2 separate regions of the Homo sapiens genome follow, and region 2 is linked to region 1. The links are contacts of gene promoters, found by promoter capture Hi-C in human tissues and cell types (Jung and others, 2019). All regions are on one chromosome and are shown on one strand. The core of a region is centred on a gene start or on the middle of the fragment in contact, and the rest is flanking DNA. Distances in the headings are between cores, read along the strand shown.

Region 1 (5,225 bases), core at 2,726-5,225:
CGCCTGTAATCCCAGCACTTTGGGAGGCTGAGGCGAGTGGATCACCCGAGGTCAGGAGTTTGAAACCAGCCTGACCAACATGGAGAAACCCCATCTCTACCAAAAAGTACAAAATTAGCTGGGCATGGTGGTGCATGCCTGTAATCCCAGTTCAGAGAATTCAGGATTCAGGAGAATCGCCTGAATTCGGGAGGTGGGGGTTGCAGTGAGCGGAGATCGTGCCATCGGACTCCAGCCTGGGCAACAAGAGCAAAACTGCGTCTGAAAAAGAAAAAAAATGTGTGGGAACCACTGCTTTGGGTGGTGACCTGTTTTCTTTTATTGAAGTAGAAACACTAACCATTATGCAGAGTCCCTAGAGGAGTGGCCATGGGGATTTGGGGGCAGAGGAGGGCTTGGGGGACATCAGTTACCCCGAGGAGCCTGAAAAGAAGAAAAACAGCCCACCTTACATGGATGCCTTTCTTGGATCTTAGCCAGCTCAAGCCCCAGCTCAGGAAAACCTTCCCTGAGCTCCCTTTCATCTGCTTGCATAGCACTGACCTCTGCACTGCAAATAGATATTCATTTGTGTGATTCTGTTTTCTCTTCTAAAAATCCTAATGGTAAAAACCATATCTGTTTTTGCTCACCTCTCTTTTTCTTTTTTTTTTTTTTTTTTGAGACGGAGTCTTGCTCTAGTCACCTGGCCTGGAGTGCAATGGCATGATCTTGGCTCACTGCAACCTCTGTCTCCTGGGTTGAAGCGATTCTCCTGCCTCAGCCTCCTGAGTAGCTGGGACTACAAGCACCCCCCACGACGCCCAGCTAATTTCTGCATTTTTAGTAGAGACGGGGTTTCACCATGTTGGCCAGGCTGGTCTCGAACTCCTGACGTCGTGATATGCCCACCTCGGCCTCCCTAAGTGCTGGGATTACAGGCATCAGCCACTGTGTTTTGTTGTTGTTGTTGTTGTTGTTTTGAGATGGAGTCTTGCTCTTGTCGCCCAGGCTTGAGTGCAGTGGCACGATCTCGGCTCACTTCAACCTCCGACTCCCGGGTTCAAGGGATTCTCCTGCCTCAGCCTCCTGAGTAGCTGGGATTACAGACATGCACCACCACACCCAGTGAATTTTTGTACTTTTAGTAGAGGTGGGGTTTCACCATATTGACCAGGCTGGTCTCAAACTCCTGACCTCAGGAGATCCCTCCACCTCAGCCTCCCAAAGTGCTGAGATTACAGGCTTGAGCCACGGTGCCCAGCCTCACCTCTCATTCTTAAATCCCAGCTCCTGGTACATAGTAGGTGTTCTGTAATGTAAGATAACTAGCTTGGGCACAGTGGATCACTTGATCCCAGGAGTTCAAGACAAGCCTAGACAACATGGTGAAACCCAGTCTCTACAAAAAATACAAAAAATTAGTTGGGCTTGGGGGCACACACCTGTAGTCACAGCTGTTTAGGAGGCTGAGGTGGGAGGATCACCTGAGCCTGGGAAGTCGAGGCTGCAGTGAGCCAAGAGTGCCACTGTACTCTAGCCTGGGTGATGTGAGTGAGACCCTGTCTCAAAAAACCAACAAACAAAAAGATCACAACTGACATCTATAATTACAAGTCCATAGATAACTTTCTTTTTCATTCTTTTATTTATTTATTTTTTTTGAGATGGAGTCTTGCTCTGTTGCCCAGGCTGAAGTACAGTGGTGTGGTCCCGGCTCACTGCAACCTCTGCATATTGGGTTCGAGCAGTTCTCCCACCTCAGCCTCCTGAGTAGCTGGGACTCCAGGCATGCACCACCATGCCTGGTTAATTTTTGTATCTTTCTTCTTCTTTTTTTTTTTTTTTTGAGACAGTCTCACTCTGTCGCCCAGGCTGGAGTGCAGTGGCGCGATCTCAGCTCACTGCAAGCTCCGCCTCCCGGGTCCCCACCATTCTCCTGCCTCAGCCTCCCAAGTAGCTGGGACTACAGGCGCCCACCACCACGCCTGGCTAATTTTTTTGTATTTTTAGTAGAGACGGGGTTTCACCGTGTTAGCCAGGATGGTTTTGATCTCCTGACCTCGTGATCCGCCTGCCTCAGCCTCCCGAAGTGCTGGGATTATGGGCATGAGCCACCACACCCGGCTAATTTTGTATTTTTAGTAGAGATGGGGTTTCTCCATGTTGGTCAGGCTGGTCTCAAATTCCCGACCTCAGGTGATCCACCCACCTCGACCTCCCAAAGTGTTGGTTGGGATTGTAGGCGTGAGCCACGGTGCCCAGCTTTTTTTTTTTTTTTTTTTTTTTTGAGACTGAGTCTCACTCTGTTGCCCAGGCTGGAGTGCAATAGTGTGATCTCGGCTCACTGCAACCTCTGCCTCCCGGCTTCGAGAGATTCTCCTGCCTCAGCCTCCCAAGTAGCTGGGATTACAGGCACCCACCACCACGCCAAGCTAATTTTGTATTTTTAGTAGAGACAGGGTTTCACTGTGTTTGTCAGGCTGGTCTCAAACTCCTGAGTTCAGGTGATCCACCCACCTCAGCCTCCCAAAGTGCTGGGATTACAGGTGTGAGCCACCTCGCCCAGCCCATATTTTTTCTTTTTCTTTTTCTTTCTTTCTTTCTTTTTTTTTTTTTTTTGAGACAGAGTCTTGCTCTGTCGCTCAGGCTGGTGTGCAGTGGTGCAATCTTGGCTCACTGCAACGTCCGCCCCCTGGGTTCAAGTGATTCTCCTGCCTCAGCCTCCCGAGTAGCTGGGATTACAGGCATGTGCCACCACGCCCCACTCATTGTTTGTATTTTTAGTAGAGACAGGATTTCATCACGTCAGCTAGGCTGGTTTTGAACACTTGACCTGAAGTGATCCGCCCACCTCGGCCTCCCAAAGTGCTAGGATTACAGGGGAGAGCCACCTCATCTGGCCCGTATTTTTTCAAATCCCTTTCTCACCATTGTTCATTGGTCCTGAATTTATTTTTATTTATTTTTATTTTCTGAGACAGGGTCTCACTCTATCACCCAGGCTGGAGTGCACTGGCATGATCATGGCTCACTGCAGCCTCGACCTCCCTGGGCTCAGGTGATCTTCCCACCTCATCTTCCCAAGTACCTGGAATCACAGGTGCATGCCACCACACCTGGCTAATTTTTGTATTTTGTAGAGACAGGGTTTCATCATGTTGCCCAGGCTGGTCTTGAACTCCTAGGCTCACCTCTACCTAGACTTCCCAAAGTATTGGGTTAACAGACGAGCCTCTGTGCCTGGCTCCTGAAATAAATCTTTACTTCTGTTATCATGTATACAAAAAGCTTAATAAATTCCAGTACTGCCCTCCCCTCCCCTCCCCTTCCCCTCAAAAGAAAGAAAGAAAGAAAGAAATTCAGTGTCACAGATACAGCAAAACCCCAACCCGCTTCCCTCCTCCTAGAGGTAATCGCTATCCTGAAGTTGGTGTGCATCAGTCCCAAGCCTCTTTTCGTACTTTTTCCACGGTTGTTTCCATAAACACTATGTGGGATTGTTTAGTGATTTTTAAAACATATATAGTCCGGGCGCGGTGGCTCACGCCTGTAATCCCAGCACTTTGGGAGGCCAAGGTGGGTGGATCACAAGGTCAGGAGTTCGAGACCAGCCTGGCCAACACGGTGAAACCCCCATCTCTACTAAAAATACAAAAATTAGCCGGGCGTGGTGGCGGGCGCCTGTAATCCCAGCTACTCGGGAGTCTGAGGCAGGAGAATCGCTTGAACCTGGGAGGTGGAGGTTGCAGTGAGCCGAGATCGCACCACCGCACTCCAGCCTGTGCGACAGAGACTCCGTCTCAAAAAAAAAAAACATACATAGATGTTTTCTACTGGACATACCGTCTGCTATAATTTCCTCTTAACATTGTGGGTTTCTTTACACCCCCCAAACTCATTTTAATGTCTGACATTAAAGCCTCTCTGTGATGTGCCGCTGGGCGGGGCTCCGAGTAGTGGGCGGAGTCTAGATTGGGAAATAGGGGCGGGGCCTATGAGATCCCGGCCTCAGGGTGGACGCAGTGGTTCTGCACTGAGGCCCTCGTCATGGTGGCGCCTGTGTGGTACTTGGTAGCGGCGGCTCTGCTAGTCGGCTTTATCCTCTTCCTGACTCGCAGCCGGGGCCGGGCGGCATCAGGTAGGAGATGCCGCTGCACCAGGGTTGGTGGTACCGGGTTTTCTGGCCTTCTGAGCCTTTGTGGACCGTCGCGCCGCGGCTCCTGCGCGTGCGCACCTGGGCGGGCGGGACGCATGCGCGTCCGTGCGCTAGTCGTGTGCCGGGTGGGGCTTCCGCAGTGCCCTACCTGGAATCGGTGGCCGCGCCGCTACCCCTTTCTCTCGACTCCAAGCCAGAGTCTGGCCTCATCCCTCTCTTCACCCCCGGGAACTCCATACCTCCAAAGGCCTGAGGCCCTGGCCGGCGCACACTCCCATCCGTCACCGTCGGGGCCCTTTCCCTCTGCACCTGTTAGGGAGGCCGCAGGGGTTTTCCATTCCTCCCAGCCTGGCTCCAGAGCAGGTGCCAGGAAGGGGGCATCTGAATATTTTCTGCCTGTCCCCCACGAGCTGGAGAAGCGCGAGGCGGCTCCAGGAAATTCCTGAAGCTCTCTCCCTTCCCGCCAAGGAGAGGGCCCACTCTCCCTCCCCAATCCGCTCCCCGATCAGAAGGCCATGTCATTGGCCAGGGCACAGAACAGATACACCCATCCTCCCTCTTTCCCCCCATTTCTGGTCAGCGGGCGGGTTTGTATATGTGTTTTCCTGCTCCCTGGGCCCACAAGCTACCTCTGAGCACCTGCGCGCTCCCAGGAGCGGAAGGGACACGCTGAGGGAAGGCGGAGATCCAGCAGGTCTTCCCGGGGGAGGCTCGGCCACCGCCGGGAAGTGTACTCTCTGGCTGGGGAGCCAGATAAAACCACAGGTGGTGTTAGGCGAGAAATCAGTGGATTCCTGCAGGGGGTACTCGATGAGAGCTGGGGACATCAGGATAGGGGCCTCCTGACAGGCCAGCTGGAAAGGTGGAGCCGGGAGGGGAGAGGAGTATTCACACAGGCCCGAGGGAAGGGCTGAGCCCCCGCCTGGGACCAAGCTGTGGGCCTGGTGGAAAAGGCCTTGCCAGTCAGACTGAGAAGTCGGGGCCTTGTGCTGTGGGCAGCAGGCCGCTAAGCAGAGGAGGTGAGGCTTCCGGGCTGCCGCTCCTCCTGCCATGGGCCGGGCTGGGCTTATAGGCAGCATTGTCATTT
Region 2 (5,225 bases), core at 1,329-3,828, 450 kb before region 1:
TTTCTGTTTTGTTCATTGCAAAATCTCTGATCCTGACACAATGCCCTAGCCCTGATGTGCTCAATAAAAATTTGTTGAATAACTAGGTGAATAAATCTAGAGAATTAATTAATTCACTTAAGCAGCATAAAACAAGATACCTAATTCTACTACCTTTGGCCTATAGTGCTCTGTTCCACAAAGTCATTCAGGGACCCAGTCTCCTTCAATCCTGTTGTATTACCATCTTCACCATAAGCCTTCAAGGTTGATGGAGACAGTGGAGGAGACACTGTTACTGTGAATGGCCTTGAAATGACACATCATTGGTGAGGGCTGGTCCCAAGGCATCTGGGTAGATGCCACGGGCCCAGGCCATGCAGTCGAAGCTGTGGACTCAGGAAGAGGAAATGTGTGGTAAGCATCTGGCCCAGTTTGCTATTCTGATCACCAAAACCAGTTTTGTGCTTCCTCTCCTACATGGGTCACAGGCACCCTCTCCTAGGGGGACAATACGAGGTCACACCCCGCCCAGACCTCCAGGTGATGCAGCCTCCCTCAGGTGGCTCTTTGAAGTCCACAATCCTGAATTAACAAGACAGCTTAATCCACCTCCCACCCAGCAGGTAGTGATGAGAACAGGCAGGACACCCTCCTAGGCCCTCCTACCCAGGAAGGAGCGGGTGCAGATGCAGCAATTGCTGCTCTGCGGTGTTTTTGCAATCCTGCTGGGCCCTGTCCTGGGCTGGGGGGAGTCCTCGCTCAGGCCCAGTTCTGCTCTTGGGCCCACATCTGAGCTTGTAAAGCCCTCGCTGGACACAGCTTTCACAACCATTTTCCTGCCTGAAGGTGGATTTAAGACTTCCTCAATTGCCACCGTTTTTTTTTTTTTTTTTTTTTTTTTTTAAGGCTTTGCTAATGGTTTCTTAAATTTACTACATCTTTATTTATTTCCAGGCAGGTCCAGGGTCAGTGACTACATTCATGGTTTGTTCCTGGAAACAGTTCTCATGTCAGCTTTTTCTTTGCTTCCTTAACCACGTGCCCCTCCCTCAAGCTGGTGGCTTTGCAGTTTCCATGCTCCAGTGGGAAGACCACACCCTTCATTGGATGGTCACCATGAGGCCCAGTCACTGTGTTCAACTAAGTCTCATGGGGCCTTTGTTGCTCACCTGCACCTCTTACTGGTTGGAGACTAGAAGCAGTTGGCTTTTCCAGAATTGCAAGGCCCTGGTTAACATCTTTCCATCTTTTTCCCTTCTGCTTGTAAACTGGCTAATTCTTTCTTGAAGTAAACTTTTTCTCGTGATGCCTCGCCAAAAGCAGCCAGTAACAATCAACACATATTTGTTGTTGTTGTTGTTGTTTATTCCCCTCAAGTCAAAAAGTCAGCAGACATGGAGTTTGTTTTCCGAGTTATCGAGTGAAACGGCCTTACCAGATGTTTTGCTCCGCCTGGCAGGGACCTCAGTTGTCCTGCCAGCTGCACCTGTCTTATCACTGCTCGCCACCTGGCCACACGCTGAGCCAGTGCCATGTACTTAAGGGTTTGGTTACATGTGCACTGCACTTCAAAGTGCTGATTTGTATATTAGTGAGAATAAGAAAAGCTAACTAGTGTAACAAAGCCCCAAATCTCAGTGGATCAGCAGAGTGAGTTTGCTTTCCAGTGATGCAAAGGCCAGCACAGCTCTTACTGATCAGGCGGCCGGCCTCTAAGGGGTGACTCAGGGACCCACAGTCCCTCCAGTCTTTAACATGTGATCCGTAGGAGAGTCCCCTGTGGGAGCATTTGTGTGCCACGTTTGGAATTGGTGCCCATCACTTCTTCCAACCTTTCCTTGGCCATGGCTTAGCTTGGTCCCAACCTAACTGCAGGGAGGCTGGGAAATGATGAGCTGTGGGCCCAGTAGGTTTGGTAAACACAGCATTGTCTCTGCCACAGTACCACCAAATCACAGGGTTTCTATCCTGTTACTGTTGGTGGCTCTCATAACCCTCCCTGGAAGAGTTTCAAGGTCCTTCTCAACTTGTTTGCAGCCACTAGTCCAGCCATTTCCCTCCCTAAGCCAGACCTGAGCTCTGGTAGGCAGGCCTCCTCCAGGCTCCTGCCCTCACCTCAGGCCCTGGCCCTAGTACCCTGCCATCTTCCCCTACAGGAGTGACCGTCTTGTGTTTCCTCCTTCTTTCAATGACCTCATCCTTCTGGAAGGAACTGCTAGCACTGGGAATCTGCACTCTGCACTGAAATACATGACTCTGACCCATTCTGAGGGCAGGAGCCAAATAAAAGGGGGCAGGACACACAGGAGGCCCCCAAACAAGGCCTTGCCAATGGGAGTAACTTCCTCAAAACTTCAAGGCCGAGGAAAACACTGGCCACGGCTGAGACCTGTCAGCACACCTGAGATTTAGCAGTTTGGAGACAACCTAGAGGACATTCAGGAGCCTGTGAGGAGAGCGCAAAGTGGAGGGATAACAGCACCACTGGAGACAGTGGTGTGGTTAGTGGAGCAGTGAGACGGCTGTCCATACCTCACTGCTCAGATCTGTCCCTGCCCCCACGGGCCCAGCTGCCCTGTAGGCACACAAAGGCTGTGTGGAAGGTCTGTGGCTCACAAGCTGCCTGGAGGGCTGTCTGAGGTACCTGCCAGGGGTTTTCACCCTCACCTCCGTTAACTGTCAAGTGCTCCCTCTGACGCAGTCTGAAAACTGGTAAACGCTTTTTTTTTTCCCTTAAGGTTCTAATGACCAAAATGTAAATATAGGCAAAACAATGCAAAATCAAAATGAAACACTCAGAACAAAAGCCACATTTTTACCAGATCTACTTTTATTTCAGAAGGAAGTTTGTATTATAGTATTTACTTTTGTTTATATACAAGTTCTTCACATTTGTGTTTAAAATGCACAGACCTCCCTTAGTTCTCTTGTTCCTGCTTAAATTAGCTGTTATTTTACAATACAAAAAATACCAAAAAATTGCAGTCCTAAATGTATGTATAACACCCACAATCCCCGCGATGAAATAGTTTACAATACTTACTCCATATTTACATGAGTGTAATAGATGCTAAATTATACATATTAACAAACTAAGCTTGAATCCAAACAAACGAAATCGTAAATAACTATAAAACAAAAACATTTCCAGAGCCAGAATTAGTTCAACGAAACAGGCTTCACTAGTGTTTAGAATGTTTTGTGCACAAATTCAGTTACTGAAAATCAATTCCATTACTGCCTTTAAAAGATGAGGTGCCAATTTTCCTCTCCATTTCAAAACATCTCCTTGTAGGCAGGGTGTTTGACTCTCATCAAGGGGCAATATCTCTTGGTGGGCCTGGCTATCTAGAAACCACCGCAATGGCTGGAGCCAAGTTTGGTCAATGGGGTAAACATTTCAGAAGGTAGGCAGGGCATGCCCTGAGGCCAGGAGGCCTCTGCCGTCCTGGCTGTGTCCTCAGGATGGCCAATTCTCACAGAAACCACCACAAGGAAAGATCTCCTGGGATGACAGGGGTGTGAGGACTTGGATTTTGTTTTAATTCTAAAATCTATTTTTACATCTCAGTCACTACCCTAGCATTAGCTTAAGTTAGTGTTTAGCAAATACTTGTTGAATGGATGGATGAATAAATGAAATGGAAGGATCAAAGATGTTCATGAAAACACCACCATCTCCCAAGGAAGTGAATCAGCCCCTGGCCCCAGTACACCCCATTAAATCAAAGGAGCAGGATTTGCACTGGAAGGTAAAATGCCTCTTCCCACCAGCAGTGCCCTGCTCTTTTTATTTCCCAGGTGTCTCCAGTCTTGAATGGCAGGACTTACCCACGGGTAGTCCAGTACTTTCCTTCTGCTGACAGTCTTCTGTCCAGGACTGCCTTTCCTCCGGGTTAGCTCAGGGGATCTGGGGTTGCCTTCTCTCCACACGGGGAGGCACAGGCTTCTCCCCAGGCTGTGTGCAGGGATGGCAGGAGGCACACAGGAGTCCAGGGTATGTCAAATTCTCCATGGGGAAATGGGAACTATTTATCAACAAACTAGCTCCCTACTCCCACCCCCAGTTTTCAGTATAATAAACTGATTCCAGGAAATGGTCATTAAAAATTTAGACAAAACTACAAAAAATGGAGAACCCCCTTTTGGAAAGTCTGATTGCTACAGGTTAGTCTTTGAACTTAAAGACTAAGAGAAACATTTCTCAGGACAAGACTGGTCATCCCTCACTACCCAGAGCACCAAGAGGCTGCCAGAAAGGGTCATGATGTGCTTGCAGGGCCAAGGGCAGCGGCAGGGACGCCTCTGCTTCCTGAGTCTCCTCCAGCACTGTCGTTTCGATTCCCTGCCTGATTTTTCATGTGCACTCTGACAGATGAGTCCTGTTTTAAGAAATACCTAATTGGTGCCAGATGCATCTGAACACATCACACAATGGGGATGCGTTTCTTGGGTTTGTTATTCATGTATCGGGGCCTGGCGAGAACCTGGATATCCAGCATATGGCACAAAAACATCTTAGGTGAAACTCAGACATTGTTATATTTAATAAAAATACATGAAGATTTTTTCTGTTTTATGTACACTCCGAATGTCTGAACATTCTGGACACTACTGTATAGTTATGTACAAGTGCAAGGTCAGTGTTGTCTTGACTATTTTAATTTATATACAGGCTCTCTTGTGACGCGCAACACTGCCAGATGACAACCAATTCCTTCTTGGAAACAGGCTCCGAGCCCAGCGCCTCTTACTCCCTGCCATTCCCTTTTTCTGCCCTGAGGCCGGAGAAAGCTGTTTGCTGTCGGTTGCAAAGGAGAAGCAGGTGGATTCAGCGGCTTCCCCACCGCTGGAGCAGAATGAAACTTCACTTGCTCCTTCCTTCCTTTTTAAAAATAAACATTATCTTTTAGGAAAAAAATAAGACATAACCAGATGGCTGTGGGTCATGGTGCATGATATTTCAAGGCATAGGACTAACATGGGGAAGAGACTTCTTTGGCCTAGGAAAACTGGTCCTTTGAACAAACAAAGAGGATCTTCCTTGTAGGAGGACAATACCCAGGGGCCTCCCTTTGGCCTTGCTGGGGGGGCCTGTGGGAATTAAGGGGCCAGTCCACTGCAGGCGCCATGGGTGCTGTGTTCTGTAGCAGGGATGGGGGAGCTCATGAGAGGAGGGGTCTTTTCTAGAACGTCTGGTCTTTAACAGTAATGTGAAAAAGAAGCTTTATGAGAGGTGAGTC

Evidence for each region. Contacts are between HindIII fragments. The study calls those that stand out against the background at their distance.
Region 2: a contact is called between a fragment that was not itself captured here and the fragment with the promoter of DDRGK1 in region 1, in 1 of the 25 tissues and cell types used here (small bowel).

What each region holds. Positions count from the first base shown.
Region 1 is chr20:3,203,432-3,208,656 of GRCh38, reverse strand. It overlaps DDRGK1 (DDRGK domain containing 1), which reads left to right and starts at 3,975. Exons shown (of 9, transcript NM_023935.3): 1 at 3,975-4,120. The coding sequence starts at 4,030. It also overlaps a transcript of ITPA not described here. RefSeq lists an enhancer at 4,064-4,283. The HindIII fragment of the contact is 17,154 bases long and covers 1-5,225 here.
Region 2 is chr20:3,648,688-3,653,912 of GRCh38, reverse strand. It overlaps ATRN (attractin), which reads right to left. Exons shown (of 29, transcript NM_139321.3): 29 at 2,795-5,225. Among named protein-coding and RNA genes, the nearest start is that of GFRA4, 12 kb to the left of the region's middle. The HindIII fragment of the contact is 6,966 bases long and covers 1-5,225 here.